Regions from separate parts of the Homo sapiens genome. Here region 2 is linked to region 1. The links are contacts of gene promoters, found by promoter capture Hi-C in blood cells and fetal thymus (Javierre and others, 2016). All regions are on one chromosome and are shown on one strand. Each heading gives the region's core, a stretch centred on a gene start or on the middle of the fragment in contact. The rest is flanking DNA. Distances are from core to core; before and after follow the strand shown.

Evidence for each region. Contacts are between HindIII fragments. The CHiCAGO score rates a contact against its expected background, and 5 or more counts as called.
Region 2: a contact is called between the fragment with the promoter of BEND4 here and a fragment that was not itself captured in region 1, in 1 of 17 cell types (total B cells). The highest score is 8.6, in total B cells.

The regions. Positions count from the first base shown.
Region 1 is chr4:44,680,387-44,684,375 of GRCh38, forward strand. It overlaps GUF1 (GTP binding elongation factor GUF1), which reads left to right. Exons shown (of 17, transcript NM_021927.3): 2 at 55-166; 3 at 308-456; 4 at 737-817; 5 at 1,948-2,025; 6 at 2,849-2,932. Among named protein-coding and RNA genes, the nearest start is that of GUF1, 4.0 kb to the left of the region's middle. The HindIII fragment of the contact is 1,070 bases long and covers 1,694-2,763 here.
Region 2 is chr4:42,150,297-42,154,285 of GRCh38, forward strand. BEND4 (BEN domain containing 4) reads right to left here and starts at 2,359. Exons shown (of 6, transcript NM_207406.4): 1 at 2,236-2,359; 2 at 1,361-2,080. The coding sequence starts at 1,847. RefSeq lists an enhancer at 833-1,676 and silencers at 1,442-1,531, 1,732-2,051. The HindIII fragment of the contact is 4,164 bases long and covers 1-3,375 here.

The DNA.
Region 1 (3,989 bases), core at 979-3,478:
TGTTTGATAGTATGCCAAATTTATACTCCTAAATGTGGTATTTCCCCTTTCTAGGAAAAACTTGACATGTCTAGGTTTCCTGTTGAAAATATTAGAAATTTCAGTATTGTTGCACACGTGGATCATGGCAAAAGTACTTTAGCTGACAGGCTCCTAGAACTTACAGGTATTTCATTTATGTTACATACTTAACTGATGGCTGCGAGTTATTGGGAATTACTTTTACTCTTAAATTTTAATTTTATAAGTAATATTCTCTTTTTTTTTTAAAGCCCAGAGAAATATCAATAAGTGTTTCTGTTTATAGGGACAATTGATAAAACAAAGAATAATAAGCAGGTTCTTGATAAATTGCAAGTGGAACGAGAAAGAGGAATCACTGTTAAAGCACAGACAGCATCTCTCTTTTACAATTGTGAAGGAAAGCAGTACCTTTTAAATCTCATTGATACACCGGTAAGTTTAATATTAATTTTGCATGTATTGTTAAAGTCAACATTGTGTCAGTAGTGCAAACAGATCCTTGTTTAATTTTTGAACTGAGTATTAAACATCTGCCTTTGCTTTTTGTTTTCTCAGTGTTCTTATGTTAGTGTCAGTTGTTTCAAAAGTGCAGGCTACAAAAAAGAAACGAATATTTAACAGCTTTTATCAAGTAAAGTCAATAAATTTGCCATAATGCTCTTTCCTAAAAAATTAACTCACATTTACAGGTATCAATATTTTTGTTTCTCAGGGCCATGTTGATTTTAGTTATGAAGTATCCAGGTCACTTTCTGCTTGCCAGGGTGTTTTACTTGTGGTTGATGCAAATGAGGTAGGTATTTTTCATTTTGTATGATGTGATATGACATGACTATTTGGTTGTTTCAAGAGTTTTTCTTTAAAATGTGTTTTGGAAATAGAATTTTTGTGTTTGAAAAATAGATTTAATCTGTTACTTACTGAAAATCATATGGTTTCATCCTGTTAATCTGAAATATTATTACAATAAAGCATTCTCTGGAATTGACTAGTTTTTAAATTGGAATTGTTCAAAAGATTGTTGTATTTTTTTGAAGTGTGACATCATATTGTCAATGCATCTTACCAAAAAAACCCCACCAACTTTAGCAGTTCTTAATCTGAGGTTTCTATATCCATTTTTAGCAGATCTTAAGAATAAATCATTAGTTTTCAGATCATTTTAGGTGATTTTAAGGCAATAATTTGGAAGTATTAGGTTTTTAAAAAATCAGTAACATTACTAAGCTCTTTTGTTGTGTAAGCCGTAAAGACACTCAGCAGATGACCATGTAAGAGCTGTGAATATAAACTTTTGTTACATGTTTCTCACAAACTCTTCATTCAAAACCCAACTTTTTTTTAGTGGTGGTGGTGACCGTGTTGTGTTAAGCCGTTAAGCCTTTCCTGATCCCATCAAGGAAAGTCAATCTCTACCTTATGTAGGCAGTACTGGCCTTTATAAACTACCTTGATGACTGTGTTCTCTAATAAGCTTTGAGGTCCTTGAGAGTCCATGTTACATCTTTTGTTTCTCCAATGCCTGATGTAGTTTCTGGCACAGAAAAGGCCCTCCAATAAATGCTTTCTGAACTGAAAGGAATTATTACAGAGGATGATTCAGATGCATGGAAAAATAGGTATCATAGTTGAGCTGCCGTGTACCTTTCCTTAAAGGCTTCCTATCTCAAGCTTAGTAGACTGTCTGTTGGCTCACTCTACTTGATGTGATTATTGCTTTACCATCAGCGATTTTCATATTGACCCCAAAGACATAAGTTGGAGAGAAAAGCATGAAGGGTAGCTACATGGCATTTTGTTTAATTTTATTATTAGCATAACGCAAAATCTCTTGATGAAGATGTATAGAATGGTCTTAAATTACAAGTTTTGTGATATATAATAGAATGGTCATCTCAGTATCTTGTATCTTGATATTTTCAGGGAATTCAAGCCCAAACTGTAGCAAACTTCTTTCTTGCCTTCGAAGCACAGCTATCGGTAATTCCAGTTATAAATAAGGTAATTACAATGAGACAACAGTGTTGCTATTTCACTTTCTAAAAGTACAATTAATGTTTAAATGTCAGTTGTACTATTCATTATATGAGGGATCACCAGCTATTTATTAAATATATTGGTGGGATTTATCTCTTTGAATTGTATATAACAGAAGTGCAACTGAAACTCACCCTTGCACAGAATTGAGAAGGTAGTTCTCCTGAATTAACTTGTGGTAGCTGAGGGCCATTTCTGTAGGGAAGGGAAGCAGGGCAGATGAAACATGTTTGTCAGATTAAACCATACATAGGAAAAGAAGAGAAGTTTATAATCTAGGAAGAAACAATACAACACATGAAGCATGACAATTTAGTGCTAAACTGAGCTCTGTCTATAAACTTCCATTTCATATTTTAAAATTAATTTAGAATCTTAATTTTAAAATCTGCATTGCTTTAATTATATTTCTTGATAATGGAGTTAAGTTTAAAAGAAGGCCATAGGTAAGACAGCTTGTTGTCAGACTTAATGTTGTATTTAACTTAACCTTTAAAATCAGTTCACATGCTGCTTAATTGATAAATTACTACTGATCTCTTCTGCTGCCCTGGGTAGCTAACTGCTTAAGTTTTTTTTGCAAGCTCTGCTACTTAACTTCTCTTTTTCAATCATGGTTATTAAATTATACTGCTAATATATAGATTATTTTACTGCTTTTGAAAAAATATTGTAGAGGGGTCAGTTAGGTTAAAGTGGGTAAGCTTTTAATTACCTCCGAATACTGTTAATACATAATACATCTTATCTTTATTATACTTCACATAATGGATTTTTTTTTTTAAAGATAGATCTGAAGAATGCTGATCCTGAAAGGGTTGAAAACCAAATTGAGAAAGTGTTTGATATTCCAAGTGATGAATGTATTAAGGTAAAATACGTTCCTAAAAAGATTATACTTTGAAAAAAGTCTCAAGTAATTGGGCTAAGTGAAATTTCATGGTATTTGATAACCTGGCATTATATGCTGTTTTTTATAGTTTTACAAACTTCTTTTACTATTATTTCCTTTGATCCTTATCAAAAGCCCTTTTTATATTGTTAGGACATACAGAAATTATTGCGATGCTGTAGTTAAAGGAACTGAGGCTCAAAGGTTTTATCACTTTCCTAAGATCACAGGTTTAGTTAGCCAATGTGCCAGGACTAAAACACAGGCCTTCTGAAACTCCCTGCAGTATTTCTTGTGTGTCAGTTTGCCCAGTGGAAATACTGTCTTTGAAGAGCAGGTTCAAACTAATTTCAGGGCTTTTGTATGTATCATTCTTGGAACTGACAAAAACCTATTTTATAAAAAGCTAGTTGTAGTGCTAGGAAACAATAGATTTTATTTATACCAAAGTTGCTACCATTTTAAATTTGAATTTTTATTTACCTTTGAAATGATGATCTGCTTGTTAAACAGCCACAGCCAAACTGCTATACTACATGGTAGTGTAAAGTATGTCAGCACAGCAATGTAATGTTTTTCTTTCAAGCTAATTTAATTTTCAAAAGAGCAAGTTATATATGGTTTTATATTTTGGATTATGTTATATTAAAATACAATTAACTATTCTGATTTTAATCTTAATAAAATTCATTCAGATTCTTATTTGGTATATGCCAGCTAAGAGTATGGCAGTGAATAAGACAGACAAGACCCCTTCCTTTCTGCAGACAGTCAATAAATAAGTAAACAAAGAAGTAAGCATAGGAATTATTGACTAGGATAGAGATTGTCAAGGAAATTCATTCGACAAATTGTTATTATTCTAGGTGAAATACCATCATTAACAGTGAAAAGTCTTTTTTCTTAGAGAGACGTTATGACATGGAATAACTTAGCAAAAGCGTCTCTGATAAACTGAAACGTGGAGGAATGAATAATTTTCAGAAAAACATTCCAGGAAGAGAAAAGAGCATGTGTAAAGGACTTAAATTAGGAA
Region 2 (3,989 bases), core at 1,109-3,608, 2.5 Mb before region 1:
CTGAAAAAAAACATACCCCACAAACAATAAGGAAGTCCACCTAAGAACCCCACTGAAAGCAATCAAACATCTTCAAATCAGTGAGAGATGCAACAGATCAAGTCTTCACTATAACCTGTAATTAGGTTTTCTTTTCCAAAACCAATCCTTCATGTGTCAAAATATTGACAAACAACAGAATTATTACTGGAGGCATCTATAACTCATTTAGACACAACACTTCTATTTTCCACAGGAGAAAAAAATAAGTCTCAAGATTCACTGACATGCAGGATTTGGGGGGCTTCAAAGTGCCATAAAAGGCCTTGGCAGGAACTTTTAGTTCTAATGAGTGGATAAACGTGGCTGCACCCACTGGGAGCTGGTGGAGAGGTCCCTTGGGCGCAGGCCTCAGGCTGTGGCCTCGCAACCAGCCCATCTCGCTCCCTGCAGGCAGGCAGTGGGCTGCTTTGCCGGGCAGCGCCCGCAGACTCGAGATAAAGGAGAGGAGTCGCGGACCCCAGAGTGGGTGCCTCCCACGAGGCGTTTCTGTAAGGCTCGGGCCGAGATGCTCGGGAGGGGCAGGACCCCGCGGCGCGGCAGCGTGCCACGGACGGGGACGAGGGGATGGCGGGGACGACGACGTGGGCGGTGGGAGCAGAGTGCCTGCGACTCCCGGGGCAGGAAGGAGGGGCGGGATGGTTCCCCGCGCCCGAAATCCACGGCGTGGCGGACGCGGAGGAGCCCCGAGTCTCACAACCAAGGGGTGGGAAGGAAAAGGGACAGAGCGAGACAGAGCGCCCCCGAGAAACACAGGCGCACAAAAAAAGACAGAAGGAAAAACGGAACTGAGAGCCAGCCAGCATGGACTGCGACAGCGTGAGAGTGCATCAAAGAGGTGGCGAAGAAAGCACTAGAAGGCAAAGGAGAAGTGGAGAGAAGAAGAAACAAATGGAGGAAGAAGGAGAAAGGGAAAAAGCAGACGGAAAAAGTGAAGTAGTACGAGGGCGTCCCAGCGGGGCGGCCCGAGAAGCTCCAGCTTCTTCCCGAGCGGCCGCCGCTATCCCCCGGGGGGGCGTCTGGCCCCACTCCGGACCACGCCCGAGCGATCCTGGTCGCCGACTGCCACAGCCGTGCTTCCCGGCGCGGGATCCAAGCCGCGGAGCCACCTGTTAGGCGCGCGCCGTCGGAAGCCCAGGCGCGGCGGCGCTGGAGAATCCTCTCGAAGTTTCCGGGTGCGCGGGGAGGCCCCAGGTGCGCCCCGACATCCCGACACGGCCCAGCACGGGTAAGTGTCGGCGGCCCCCCGCTTCTCCTTCCTGGGTCCCCTCCCGCTGCCCCCGGCCGTGGCGGGAAGGAAAGTTGTGCGGAGAGTTGGTACCTGCGCTGAGCTCCAGGCTGGCGCTGTCGCTACCCGTGCCGCCGGTGCCGGCGGCCGCCGCCGCGCCTGGGCCATACCTGACGACAGCGGCGAACGAAGACGACGAGGAGGCGGCGGGGGACGCGGGCGGCGGCTGCGCCGGAGTCCTCAAGTGGCCCTGGGATGTGGCGGGCGTGCAGGACGGCGACGACGACGAAGCGGCGGCGGCGGCCCGGCCGGGCCCGGGGGGGTAGGAGCTCTGCGCCTGGAACTGCTGCGGCGGCGGCTCGCTGCTGCTGATGGAGACGGCGGCGTGCGGCGCGAAGGGCGGCGGGGGCGGCGGGGGCGCCCGCACGTGCGGCAGCTCCACCAGGGTGGGTCGCTCGTAGCGCTTGGCCAGCGCCGGTCTCTTGCTGGGGAACGTCTTGAGGACGCTGTAGGGGCTGCGCTGCTTGTAGATTTTGGGGACGCTGGGCCCCTCCTCTGCCGGCTGCATCTCTTCCTCCATCCGGCGCCTCGGGGCCGGTCCCTCGGAGCACGTCCCCTCCCCGCCGGGCGCCGGGCTCCGAGGGTGCCTCCGCCGCCTGCCCGCCGGGTCTGCCCTGGTGCGCGCGTGTGGGAGGGTGTGTGTCTGTGCCGTGGCCGCCGCCGCCGCCGCCTGTCGCTGAGGCTGGCATCGCCGAGCCCCCGCGCGGGGGGCTGCCGCCCGAGCTCCTGATTGACAGGCTGCCTCGCCAATGCCTGGAGGGAGAAAGGAGGTAAAGAGCAAGTGTTTAGGGTAATATCTGCTAATGATAATGGGGGCGGGGCGGGGCCTGGCGCCGCAGCCGCCCGCGGGGTCTGCCTGGCGGCTCCGCGCCTCCGACGGGGAGCGGGGGAAGGGGGAAAGCGAGGACCTGGAGGACGCCCGGGAACTGGTGAAGAAGGTGGGGATCCGGGATCTGGCTACGGCGAGACTTTAGAGACCCAGATGTGGACTCGAGGCTTCTGCGGCTGCGGGCGGGGTCCGGCTTCCGAAACGAGCTCGTGGCGCCCCCTGCATGACCCCAAACTCTCGGGGTTGCACAGAGGAGGGGCTAGTCGTTGGGGCGGGGTCGTCAGAGTACGTGTGTATTACAGCAAGTTCTTCTACCAATCGGGAATTGCTCTCCGATCCTTCTGAAAAGAACCTCTTGAAGATCTTGGCCCGGGTGGTCGCGCGGTGTTTACGGGGCTTTGGGGTCCTGCTTTCCCCGAGCATCGCGGCCTCTGAGCTCATGCGGAACATAAAAGCTCGCAAGGCGTAGAACTTTTTCACGTTTTCATTTGTTTCCCGTAGGGGCCCCGAGAACGTGCATGACACCATGATTTCCCCCCCATTATAAAGATGAGAAAACCGAGGCTCTGAGAGGTTGAAGGGAATTGCCCAAAGTCAGACACTCGGGAGTGTGCGGCTGTGTTGCACTGACGCATCCAGGTTATTTGAAGTCAACTCCTCACTTCCCATAGCCAGTAGCCTCTGTGCAATTGAGTGGGGAAATGTCCTGATACCTCCCTTTGAGGTGATGATTACTTTCAACAGTGTCATTTTTAATATATGTATATGTACTTGCAAGCCCAGGGAAACACGAGAACTCACTCCTTGCATTGTTTTACTCACTGCAACTGGCGCCATCCGGCGAGGGTCTGGAGGGTGCCCAATTTCAGTAGCCGTTTGAATGAGAGATCTCAGTCGTTGGGAGGAAGATCCTCCATGGGATGCAGATGTCCTGGTCTCTCCCAGCCACTTTTTGGGGCAGAGGGTCCATTGCTCCCTATCCCAAATCACCCCTCTTCTAGGCCAACCAGCATACCCTGCCCCAGGTTTGCTTTTCAGCCTTCCTTTTTCGTTCTCCAGGTCAGAGTTCTGGATGCTCCTTGATGTAGGACCCTCATCTCTGCACTCTGAAGTTTGTTTCCTTTTCAGAGCCTTCCTTTTATTCTTAGGAAGGTGACCCATTTTCTTCTGGGGGTTCACATCTTTTGGCCTCTCTTTCCCTGGTCTCCTTCCCTTTGGAAGCTTTTTCTCTCTGCCTTGCTGGTTCAGCTTCTGTATTATTCCCCCCTAGATTGTCTCCCTCTCTCCTGCAGCTTCCTCAGATGGTGCTGTGTCCCCCCCCCAATCCATTTATTAGAGATGAAATAAATAATGCCATAAATATAAGTATTTGGGAGTCCAGGAACTGTCAGGGCTGATTAGGGCATAGAGGACATTTTCTTTCTCATTATGCAAAAGCATTTCATGGGGAAATAAAAGAGGTTTCATTGTAACTCATGCATGTCATATTTCAAGGAATTCAAGATATTAATCATATTTAACATTATTTGCAATGTTTCTCCCTGGCTTCTGAAAACTGCTAAATGAGGACACGTGGATCACTAGGAAAAGGAGACAAGCATGAGAGGGACAGTTAAGAAATAATGAAATGCTGGTGAAAGAGAAAGAGAATGAGATGCCAGGGAGATGTTTCTTAGGCACGTAAGTGAGAAATGGGGGAGCTACTTCTGAGACGTGAGACAGCTGAAATTGAATGATATACTGGAGGAAATAAATGATAACAAACCTCCCCACACTTTCCTTTCTATAAAGCAGTTCTGAATTTTGCATTGAAATGTTTTCCTCCCACTTTAC